Regions from separate parts of the Homo sapiens genome. Here all the other regions are linked to region 1. Evidence: promoter capture Hi-C in 16 types of primary human blood cells and fetal thymus (Javierre and others, 2016). All regions are on one chromosome and are shown on one strand. The core of a region is centred on a gene start or on the middle of the fragment in contact, and the rest is flanking DNA. Distances in the headings are between cores, read along the strand shown.

What was found. Contacts are between HindIII fragments. The CHiCAGO score rates a contact against its expected background, and 5 or more counts as called.
Region 2: a fragment that was not itself captured here is called in contact with the fragment with the promoter of TPMT in region 1 in 1 of 17 cell types (fetal thymus); the score reaches 5.0 in fetal thymus.
Region 3: the fragment with the promoter of ATXN1 here is called in contact with the fragment with the promoter of TPMT in region 1 in 6 of 17 cell types (naive CD4 T cells, total CD4 T cells, total CD8 T cells and 3 more); the score reaches 18.4 in naive CD4 T cells.
Region 4: a contact is called between a fragment that was not itself captured here and the fragment with the promoter of TPMT in region 1, in 1 of 17 cell types (total CD8 T cells). The highest score is 5.6, in total CD8 T cells.

Annotation. Positions count from the first base shown.
Region 1 is chr6:18,153,645-18,156,423 of GRCh38, forward strand. It overlaps TPMT (thiopurine S-methyltransferase), which reads right to left and starts at 1,433. Exons shown (of 9, transcript NM_000367.5): 1 at 1,389-1,433. KDM1B (lysine demethylase 1B) reads left to right here and starts at 1,778. Exons shown (of 22, transcript NM_001364614.2): 1 at 1,778-1,927; 2 at 2,239-2,282. RefSeq lists a silencer at 1,479-2,038 and an enhancer at 2,479-2,718. The HindIII fragment of the contact is 1,618 bases long and covers 701-2,318 here.
Region 2 is chr6:16,480,754-16,483,532 of GRCh38, forward strand. All of the region lies in intron 6 of ATXN1 (ataxin 1), which reads right to left. Among named protein-coding and RNA genes, the nearest start is that of GMPR, 240 kb to the left of the region's middle. The HindIII fragment of the contact is 886 bases long and covers 897-1,782 here.
Region 3 is chr6:16,759,931-16,762,709 of GRCh38, forward strand. It overlaps ATXN1 (ataxin 1), which reads right to left and starts at 1,530. Exons shown (of 8, transcript NM_001128164.2): 1 at 1,368-1,530. It overlaps ATXN1-AS1 (ATXN1 antisense RNA 1), which reads left to right and starts at 1,208. Exons shown (of 3, transcript NR_136240.1): 1 at 1,208-1,236; 2 at 2,189-2,349; 3 at 2,422-2,779. RefSeq lists silencers at 1-297, 308-787, 858-987, 1,464-1,623, 1,631-1,846 and 1 more and an enhancer at 1,984-2,779. The HindIII fragment of the contact is 4,299 bases long and covers 1-2,779 here.
Region 4 is chr6:17,012,765-17,015,543 of GRCh38, forward strand. No RefSeq gene overlaps it. Among named protein-coding and RNA genes, the nearest start is that of STMND1, 88 kb to the right of the region's middle. The HindIII fragment of the contact is 1,176 bases long and covers 747-1,922 here.

The sequences.
Region 1 (2,779 bases), core at 183-2,682:
GACCCTGATGGTATCAGGAGGTGACTCTGAGTTTTCTGAGAGGTCAGTAGAAAGTATCTGATTTATATTGGGTACAGAAAAGCAAAAGAATGTTGCAGTTTTCTCATTTTCATTCAGAAACTCTGGAACCTAAATTCAAGGCTTCATAAAGCAGTTCTCTACTTAAAAGAGAAGCATAATCTTTATCAGAGTTCCACAGCAGCCTGGAGTAGCACAACTCTATTCCTTTCACACAAACTTGAACTGTCTAACAAAATCATGCACATAACTTAATCATGTCTTAGTTGTTTGTTTTTGAGACAGGGTCTCTCTCTATCCCCCAGGCTGGAGTGCAGTGGTGTAATGACACTTCCGTCTCCAACACTGGGGCTCAAGCGATCCTCTCACTTCAACCTCCTGAGTACCTGGGACTATAAGGGTGCACCACCATGCCTGGCTAATTTTTAAATATTTTGTAGAGACAGGGTCTTGCTATGTTACCCAGGCTGGTCTCAAACTCCTGGGCTCAACGTCTTAGCTGTTCTAACAGTTTCTCAGCATGGACTCCACTTGTATACATCATTTCTAGAGAAATAAAGTTTATTTCTATAATACAAAAAAAGTGCACATTACAAGAATTAAGGAAGGGAAATTTCACAAAAATTTCTGCCCACAAACAAAGTCCTCAAGTTGTTCTAGTCTCCATTCTCACCTTTTCAAAAGCTTCTGCTATAGTTTTGTTTTTAAATTTCATAAAATTGAGAAGAAACTTTCCTAAGGTGCACACATCTTAAAAGAGTATGACTCGGTGAATTTTTTACATATACATACACCTGTGTAACCACCGCAGAGCAAGACAGAATATTTACAGCACCCCAGTTTCCCACATCACCAGGGATCACTCACTATTTGGCAGTACTTATTTTTTCCCAAAAATCACTAATACACCAGGCTGGGGAAAAAACCGAGAGTCCGTTTCTATAAAAAAAAATTTGAAAAATTAGCCAAGCGTGGTGCAGCGAGCCTGTAGTCCCAGTTACCGAGGAGGCTGGGGCGGGAAGATCACTTGAGCCCAGGAGTTCCAGGTTACAGTGAGCTATGATTGTGCCACTGCACGCTAGCATGGGCGACAGAGGGAGACCCTGTCTCTAAAAGAAAAAAGAAAAAAAAATAATTAAAACACACCAGTGCTTTGGAAGCACTTTAAATCCTGGACATTGGATTCAGGTCATTTACTGTCCGACCTCGTTATTCCCAGTTTCCGCTTCTGCCCTGAACCCCACTTCACAGGGCTGATTGCTAGGCTGTCTACGCTTGTAAGAATTCCTGGGAGCCCTAGCACGGGCGCATACACTCCTAGCAAATCGTTCCCTTTCTCACCCGCACCCTCCGCGCCCGAGTGAGCCTACCTCGCTTACAGCTGGTTGCCGGCCATTGCCTCCGCCACCAATGACGTCCCCAGGGGCGGGTACGCCTCCGCTTCCACCTCCGCCACTTCTCCGCGCCCCGCCTCCGCCCGCGCCCCGCCTCCGCCCGCGCCCCGCCTCCGCCCGCGCCCCGCCTCTTTCCCGCGCCCCGCCTCTTTCCCGCGCCCCGCCTCAGTTCCCGCCCCCTCTCCCGGCGCCCCGTCTCCACTCCCGCCCCGTACCTCGTTGCACAGACTCCACCCACTTCCCCAAGCGCCGGGGTTTGCGCAGCGGCGGAAATGGGCAGGGCGGAGCGAGCGCTGCGGCTAAAGCGAAGGCGGGGACCCTACCCATCCCTAGTCCTGTCGGCTCCTCCCACCCCGGGTCACGCCGTGACAGGGGCGGAAGCGGCGGCGGCGGCGGCGGCCGAGAAGAGGCTGGGGCTCGCGGCGCGGCTGCAGCCGTCCTGTGCGCGCGGCGCGCGGCTCCGGAGAGGCGCCCGCAGTCCAGGGCGGCGCGCACCGCCTCGCTGGCGCTCAGAGGTGGGAGGCTCCCCACTCCGGGGGCGTGCGTGGGGGCCGTGGCGGATTTCGGGTGACAGCGTTGCACAAAGCAGCTTGGTTGGGGTGCAAGCCCTCCCTTTCCCCCTGTGCAGCGCCCCTCGCCGTGGTGGGAGGTGGGCGGGTGCCCCAGGGACGGATACCTCCTGCCCCGGATTAAAAGAGGGTGCGGGGTGGGTATCTGTCTGAAGAAGGGGGAATTCCCGGGCTAGGGTGTTGGGGCGTGGGGTCGCCGGGTTCGTCGCGATGTTGCCGGTCGGCTAACCCCCCTACAATGTTTCCTTTCTGTACAGCGGTGCCTTTTCCCCGAGACTCCCGGCACCTCTTCAGCGCAAAGGTGAGCCCCGGGGCAGTTGCTTCTCCGACTTCGAAAAGCTTCCGAAAGCTTCTCGGAAAGCGAGGCGGCTGCAGCTGGCACCGGGAGTTTGGGGCTCCCTCCTGGGGACTGTCAGAGCCGCGGGAGAACCCCACGGTCCTGGAGTAGGAACTCCCTCGCTTGTTCTTCCCGGCCGATAGGGTGCGGCCAGGAGCCCGCACAGCCTTGCAGGTGTTGTAGTAATTCTCTGGCACAGCCACCACGCGTTGAGACTTGATGAGCATTGCCAGGTTGCTGGGGTAACTCCTCTGGGATTGGAGACCTGGAGGAGGGGTGGCCCGATTAGGGTAGCTGTTAGTCAACGGCCGGGCAGCTGACAGGTGAAAGAGGAAGGAAGAGGCCGACCCAGCTGTAGAAAGTTGGGGTTCAGTGATGTGGAAACCAGCCACATAGAAGTCCAGTCTTCCCTTGGGTAAGCCTGCAGGACTCCCCAGTCCACTCCAGTTGGGGAATCCCCC
Region 2 (2,779 bases), core at 90-2,589, 1.7 Mb before region 1:
AAGATCCATGAACTTTTTTCCTTCCACAACGTCTGGGTGTTCTTTGCATTTTCCTCCTCCTCTCCAAGATGCTGAGAGGAGGAGCTGAGTACTTGAGGAAGAAGGTGCTGAGGGGAAAGGGTGTGCCTGGGATGGGCTACGCTTTGTCAGTTGCCTCAGGAGGTAGCTCTGACACCACTTCTTAGAAGCAGTGACTCCTGCAAAGACCCTGCCAAAGGTGCCCATCCCAAATAACACACCAGGGGCAATGGCCAGGAACTAGTGAAGCTGTCAATCAGAAGCCATTCAAGGAAGTCTGAGGAAGAGAGAGAAATGGGTGAAAGAGAAAACTCTAGAAGACTTGAAGCTATCCCCAGTGCACTTGGATGGAATGAGCTCAGTCATAACCTCTCTGCCTTTACAATCTGTAGGTCAATCTGCAGGAGCATTACAAGCAAGGATTTAAGAAAAAGGAGATTGTTCTCCCTCACTTGTCCAAAAGTGGTGGAATCTCCCCTTCTCTCCTGACCCTCTTATCTACTTCAGATTTTTTTTTTGTAACGCTGGAGAATTTGGTATCACAGATGGCAAATCTAAAAGGTACAAACTGACAGACACAGAGGGAAATTCCCAGATTGCTCTTATTAGAGTGTGCGTGTGTGTGCAATTCTCTTAGTCTGGAGATTCAGAGTAAGAGAAATTCAGCTCCCATTTTTTAAGACTTACACAGACAGCATAATGCTGTTTACACAGGTACAGAGGTATTTATTTTAGTCTCTCCATTTCTTCCTAGGAATAAAGTAATGCCTGCACTCAGAGCAGTTATTCTGAAAAGGGAGTCCATAGACACACAAAATTCCAGAAACCTTTATTATTGCTGTCCTCAAAAGCTAACTAGCACAATGCCTCCCTAAGAAAGCTTTTGTGAACTTCCCATCACACACCACAGAGACATTAAATGGGTTTCATTTGTACCAGCACACCATTTTTTCATTCTAAGGTGTGCACTAGAATGAAGTGTTATTCAGTCAGCCCCTTTCTAGGGAGATACAGCACTTCAGGCCCATCCCTACTTTGAAAAGAAATATGAACGTAAGCAGTGATGAAATGATGTGATGATAAGAGACAAAACCACCGCCGTTCACAGAAAGCCAGGGCAGGATGCTCACAAACAAGTGACAAAGCAAACCACTCAAATGGAAAAGGAGAGGAAATACAGACAGTGCAGACTTTTAAAAAAAGTATTAGAAAATCCCCAAACTCTACTGATAGGTCTAGAATTTTTTTTTTTTTACACAAATTGTTCCCTCCTCACATTTCTTTATACACATCAAGTATCCACTTCTAAGGAAAATAGTCTAGACTCTCCATCCCTTCCCCACACCCTTAAACTGCTATCAGATTCAAGCATTCTCATCAGAACAGCATGTATGTTCCTTTTCCTAATGGCTCAGGCCCACACATGAGAGGCATTCACTTAGTGAATGTCATTTAGGCATTCACTCAATGAATATTTACTGACTGCCCATTATGGGAACAAGCAGTATTTTAGGTACTATTCATTCACCAGGGAAGAATAAGAATGAGAATAAGGATAAGAATACCATCCCTCCTTTTGCAGAGCTTGCAGACTAGTTGAGGAGACTGATGATTAACAAATAAATATATAATATGTAAGGTGCTTAAAAGAAAAACACAGAAGGCTAGAGGACTGAGAGGGATGGGGTGGATGCTATTTTATGTAGATCAGGGAAGGCTGCTTTGATAAGGTAACTCAAGAATTCCTACTTAAGGAAGCAGAGAAGCTTAGGAATGAAATATGGATCACTTTCTCCTTGCTTAGACTCTAACCAATATTTGAGCACAGAGGTGGTTTTAGAAAACTCAAGTTCAAAAATCGTTCCTGTTTATTTTCAAAAGGACCAATGAGTGTGGACCCTAAATTTAAACAGCTAAAGCTATAGTCTAAGGACAGTCTCAAATAAATACCTTTGAATTGTCATATGGTGCCCAGGAGGGTCTTGTGGAAAGGGTTTCATGGTAGTGAAAGATGTAATAACTCTTTTTTTCTTTTAACCCTAAGACTGTGCTCAATGTTTTAAAAACAGTTGTAAATGAGGTAGTGCCAAATCATTGATTTTTAGGAACCCAAGAAGGTAAAATAAACGTTCAATTGGCCTCATCTAAGGCTGATACTTTATGCAACTTGAGACACTTAGGGTAAAAACCACCACTGGAGGTGATTTAACTCAATTTTCTCAAGTTGTCCATCATAAAATGAGTCCCCATGGTAGAGAGGACCCAAGGTTATATGGCTAACAACAGCATTGTGCATAAAATCCAGGTCTGCTAACTCTGAGTTCAGTGTCAGCATCATTCTCTTCTTGTACAAGATCCCCCCTCCCCCCAGCCCTTACAGCCAGTCTGAAACATCTTCAGGGGCAAAGGCCATCTGCTGGCAAGTGGTGGCAGATTTGAGAGGCAGTTAATGGGACATGCACAGGAATGAATGCCAGGAGTAACATCTGCAAGGACTGCTGAGCATGGGAACCACTACTTCCAATGGCTGCTGTGATTATCACTCACACATTTATACACCCACTCCTAGACCCTGTTTATGTGCAAACATGCATTCTTTGAAAATTGCCTGCCTTCTCTACTGCAACAGTTCTCCATGGCACAGGCTTTGGGGCATGCAGGACACTAAACCCAGGAAGACAGAAAACCAGTGTTGTAAACATGTGCCCAGATAATGAAAGGTTACCAACATCACAGTTTACTAAGAAAACTAGGAACCCCC
Region 3 (2,779 bases), core at 280-2,779, 1.4 Mb before region 1:
CAAGGAAGGGCCCCCTCCGCGTCGCGACGGCCCTCGCCCCCCGCCCGGCGCGCGCGCGCACAAATACACACACACAGTCACTCACACACTCACTCACACTCACGCCGCGCTCCGACACCGCCTCACCTCTCGCTCCGCCCGTCCGGCCCCCTTCCCTGCCCCCTGCGGGACCGGCCTGCGCGCAGCACTGGAACCACGTAGGAGGAGGCGGCGGCGCCCCCGGGAGTGGCAGAGTCTCCGGCCCGGCCCAGAGTGAACGAGCAGTGGGGCTCCAGGGCGCATCCCAATCCCCGCAGCGCCTCCTCCGCGGCGGCCGCCGCCTCCTCCTCCTTCCCCTCCTCCTGGCTTCATTCACCCTCCCAGCAGCCGCGCAGCCGTTCACTCCCGGCTCAGGGCAGCGCCTGCCGCGGCTCCTCGTCTCCTGCCGCGGGTGCTGGCGGGGGCGCCGGCCCGGACTGGGGCGCTCGCGGGCTCCCGGCTCCGGGCGGCGGCTGCCGCTGCACATGATCAGGAAGCGGCCGCACCAACAGGGCGGCGGTGGCGGCGGCGGCCAGGGCCGTCACCGCCACTCCAGCCGCGCTCCAGGCACCCGCACACCCGCTACCCCCGCGCGGTCCCCGAGGCCACCCCTCTGCGCCCCCCGCCCGGCACCCGGCCGCGCGCAAAGTCCCGTCCCGGCTGCAGGAGCAGTCCCTTCCCCGCCCGCAGCCGCACACCCGGCGAGGCCGGCCCTCCGAGGGGAGACCCCCGCCCCAGGGCGCCGAGGCCGGGCGACCACCCGCGGAGAAGTCCAGCCCTCCGTGAGACCCCCTCTCTCTCACCGCCCTCTCCGGGGAGGAGGAATGGGAAGAGGGCGGCCGGGAAAGGGACCACCCCCCAACCCCAGCCGCCGCCTCCCCCCTGCGCCACCCGGAGGGAGGAGGACATGGCTCTCCGCACTTGCGACCGGACCAGCAGCCGGGGGAGCGGGGCGCCGCCGCCGCTCTCCCCGCCCGCGCCCCCCGCCCGGGCGCGCCCCCTAGCCCGGCGGGCGCCCACCCAGCCCCTGACAGCCCCCCCGCCGGCCGCCCCTGCGCCCAGAGTGGGGGTGTCGGCCCGGGAGCCTGGAGCCGGGGACGGTTGTATGTACACACATACACACACACACACACACACACGCACACACACAGAACACGACGCGTCGATTTCCTTCGCTCCTCTTCCAGCTGTTTTCCGTGCAGCCGATTGGGGTTTTGGGTTTGTTTGCTGGTTGTTGCTTTTGCCCCTCTCGGGAGATCGGGGGAGGAGGGATTTTAATCTAAATAAGGGGAGAAGGGAATGGGGGAGGGGGGAAAGAATCGGAGGAGGAAAAAAAAATAGTCACTTACTGTAAAGTGTAAATGGATCTGGGGTTGCGTGGGGAAGGGGGGGCAGAGGGAGAGAAACAATGTCTTGCGGCTGCTGTTGCTCTGGCTGCTGCTCCACGGGGCTTGTTTTGGATCCCCCTGCAGTGAAACAGGTCCTGTACGGCTCCGCCACTGTAGTAGAAATGATGTCTGCGGTATACTCTGCTCTCTCCTCCTCCTCCTCCTCCTCCTCCTCCCCCTCCTCCCGCTCCCCTCCCCTCCCTCCTCCCTCCGCCCGCCCGCCCTCCCTCCCTCCCTCGCGCTCTCTCGCGCTCGCTCGCTCGCTCGCTCCAGTATGTAAATGTGTAATAGAAGCCAAATATGGAGCAGTTGGCTGCCGCCGCCGCAGCTCAAGGATCCGACTTCATGGGGGTGGGGGGCACCCTCTGGCGGGCGGCCCGGCGAGCCGCACAGAGCACGGCGAGCGCACCGCGCGGCGGCCGGCCCGCGCCCTTAACCCTTCGCTGCGCGCCGCCCGGGGAGGCGGGCACCTTTCCCAAAGAGTGGCTCGGGATGGGGTGCGGGGGAGGGGAGACGCGGACCGGAGGGCAAGGTTCCTTCCAGGTTTGGGAAGGGGGCGGGGAGCTGGGCGATGAGGTAATTTGAGCGGTGACGGGTCGGTCCTCGCGCGCCTCCCTGGGTCCCTGCACCTAGTTGGAGGGGACTGAACGACAACGGGGCGCTACTCAGGCAACCTGGGGGACTCCCCCAAGGGCTGTCAGGCTTCAGCTGGGAGCCGATGCAACACCCCAGCGGGGAGGGGAGGTCGGCCCATTCTAATCCCGACGTGTCCTTGGTCCCAGGCGCTCGGAGCAGCATCTGAGAGGGCTCACTCTGATCATCAGCTGCACGTTAAGCCACAAACCGGCGTCGCTTCGGCGTTCCGGAACCCAGGCCTGGGGGCCGCGGGGATTGCCTCTGCGTGCAACTCCGGAAAGTTTCAAGGGGTCCCCCGACTGCACAGGTACCCTCACCTTTCCTGCCGGCGAACGCTGGCGACCGCCCGACCCTGCCCTCTTTCTCTCTTCGCACGCAGGTCCGGAAATCGGCTTTGATATGGAACTACTCCGCTCTAGCCTGGAAAGGAGACCCGCGCACTCCTCTCGCAGCTAATTTCGGATCATTAATTTAATCGGAAATGAGGTAACCAGTGTAGGAGACAGAGAAAGCAACCGGAGCATCAAATGGCAGTTCTCGAGAATCGACGAGGAACTTAAATCTGGACTCAGGGTTTCAGTGCGGTCTCCGACTCCCACCACCCCGCCCCTCCGCCTGTCTCGCCGCCAGGTGTGACCTCCACGCGAAGGAATCTTCTTCGGATGGGTGCACCTTGCCAACAGGTGTGGCACCTGGAGGACTAGGAGGCGCCTCCAGACTAAGGGCGCTCAGTGCGG
Region 4 (2,779 bases), core at 85-2,584, 1.1 Mb before region 1:
ACTTTGCCTGGAGGAGAAGGAGGATTGTTAAAGCAGGAATTTAAAAAGCAGGAAACAGTCAATGTTCAGTGTTTCTTTTTTTAAAAACTTCTAAACAGGATTTTGAATATCTGAAGATATGTCCTGAGGGAATCAGAGAACAGAGTTTAGACCGTAAAAATAACAGAAGAAAGAGGATGAAAGAAAATGAAGCCTCCCCTCCCTACCCTGCGTGTAAGTGGAGATTGGGTGGAGGAGCAGGAACGTGATGGGGGAGGGAAGTGCATGGCCTTAGAGGAGGTGGGAGTGGGAATGAGAGGCCAACCTAGCAGGACAAACACACAGCAGTGGGGCAAGCATCAGAATCGCTAACTGTATAGTGAACAACACCAGGATTCATGTTAAAGCCCAACCAATGCCTGCTAACCATTCATTGCCATTCTAGGGCATACCACACAGTACCCCAAAAGGGTGCATCTTCTCCTTGACAGTTTCCATTATAATACGTAAATTGTTGCTTTCTCATTGAAATGTGTGGGTTGCTGCTCCCTTCCATTTATCAAGCGCTTGGAATACTCCTAAGTTTTTCCTCCAACAGAAGGTGATGGGACCCTGACACCCAGGAATGAAATGGTGGAATGGAAGGGACAGTGCCCAGCACTAAGACTGGGGTATAACTGGACGGCAGTGAGAATCATTCCTATCACACGCTTATTGCACAGTGTGCTAATAATTTCCTTGCTTTTCCTATCTCCCACGAGACTGTAAGCTTATAAGGGCGGAAATCATATTGATTTTGGTCAATATTATGCCCAGTGCCCACTGCAGTGCCTAGCACATTGTGAGTGCTCAGTAGACACTGATTGGTTAAATCAACAATTTAATGAAGAATGAGTGGTTTTAAAGACATTGATTTTAAAAGACATGGATTTCCTTTAAGTAGAGAGAATATCAAGATGGTGATGGCTTTTTATCCTAAGCATCTAAGGCCTAACACTTTTAAAAAATTAAGCAAAGGGACTGCACTTTAATAATTTTTAAGTAATTTTAGACTTTCCTGCTCTGTTGTTAAGACTTTCCAGCCTTTGAGGCCTATTTATAGTCTCCTGTTACTCATCATTCGGAATGCCATATATATTTGGTATTTAAAATGATAAAGGCATTTGGAATGACATCTAGCGAGTTAGAATAAGAACTCACACCAGCATCAGCAAATTCCTTTCCTTCTATTGGCAAGAAAAAGTTGGCCATACAGGAAATTATTATGTGACACTGTTTCCCTTTGTACTTATGGTACAAACGGAAAGGTCAATGATGACCCTCCGAAGATGTCCATGTCCCAGTCCCCAGAACCTGTGAATGTTACCTTATATCACAAAAGGTACTTTGTGAATGTGATTAAGGATCTTGAGATTTTGGGTTCTCCAAGGGCATAATGAAATCACAAGAGTTCCTCTAAGAGGGCGCAGGAGGGTCAGAGTCAGAAAAGGAAATGCGAGGATGGCAACAGAGATTTGAAGATGTCATGTTGGTGGCTTAGAAGATGGAAGAAAATGCTTTGGGAGGCCAAGGCAGGCAGATCGTTCAAGCTCAAGAGTTTGAGACCAGCCTGAGCAACATAGTGAAACTGTCTCCACCAAAAATACAAAAACTTAGCTGGTTGCGGTGCAATGCACCTATAATCTCAGCTACTTGGGAGTCTGAGGTGGGAGAATTGCTTGAACCCGGAAGGCAGAGATTGCACTGAGCTGAGATGGTTCCACTCCGCACTCCAACCCAGGCAACAGTGTGACATCCTATCTCAAAAAAAAAAAAAAAAAAAAAAAAAAAAAAAGGCCGTGAAGTGCAGGAAGCTGCTATAAGCCAGCAAAGTTAAGCAAGCAGATTCTCCAGAAGGAATACAACCCTGATGACACCTTTTCATACTTTTTCTTTAATGTCAAAGCTTAAAAAAAATTGTCAAAAATTGAACATATTTAAGGTGTACAACATAATTATTTGACATATATGCATTGTGCAAGGATTGCCACAATCAAATGAAGTAATGTATCACCATTCATGCTGTACATCAAACCCTCAGAACTTCACACTTTTTTTTTTTTTGAGACGGAGTCTCACTCTGTTGCCCAGGCTGGAGTGCAATGGTAATCTCAGCTCACTGCAACCTCCACCTCCCAACCTCAAGCAATTCACCTGCCTCTCAAGTAGTTGGGACTACAGGCACATACCACTCCACCCAGCTAATTTCTGTATTTTCATTTGACACACGGTTTCACCGTATTGACCATGCTGGGCTCAAACTCCTGACCTCACAATCCGCTTGCCATAGTCTCCCACTGCACTGCAACTACAAGCATCACAACATCTTTTTTTTCCTTCTGGACAATCTGGCGCCATAGCCCAAACGGGAATGCAAAGACACGATCTCTACTCACTGTAGGTCTGACCAGAATTGGTGGACTCTTGGTCTCACTGACTTCAATAATGAAACCACAGACCCTCCCCACGTGTGTTAAAAGCAGTATGTCCAGTTTCTTCCGTTTGTTGTTTGGATGGGTTTAGTTTTTTCCTTCAGACTTAAGTGATAAATGATACAGCTCTCAAGGCAGCTTGTCTGGAGTTACTCATTTCTCCCTGTGGGTTTGTGGTTTCAAAGGCCTTAGGAGTGAAACTACAGATTTTTAAGGTGAGAGTTACAGCTCATATGTGCACTACACACCCAATCACCTACAGCAAAATATATTGCCCACACTGGAGGAGAAAAAAAAAAAAAAACACATATTCCTCACAAAACAACACT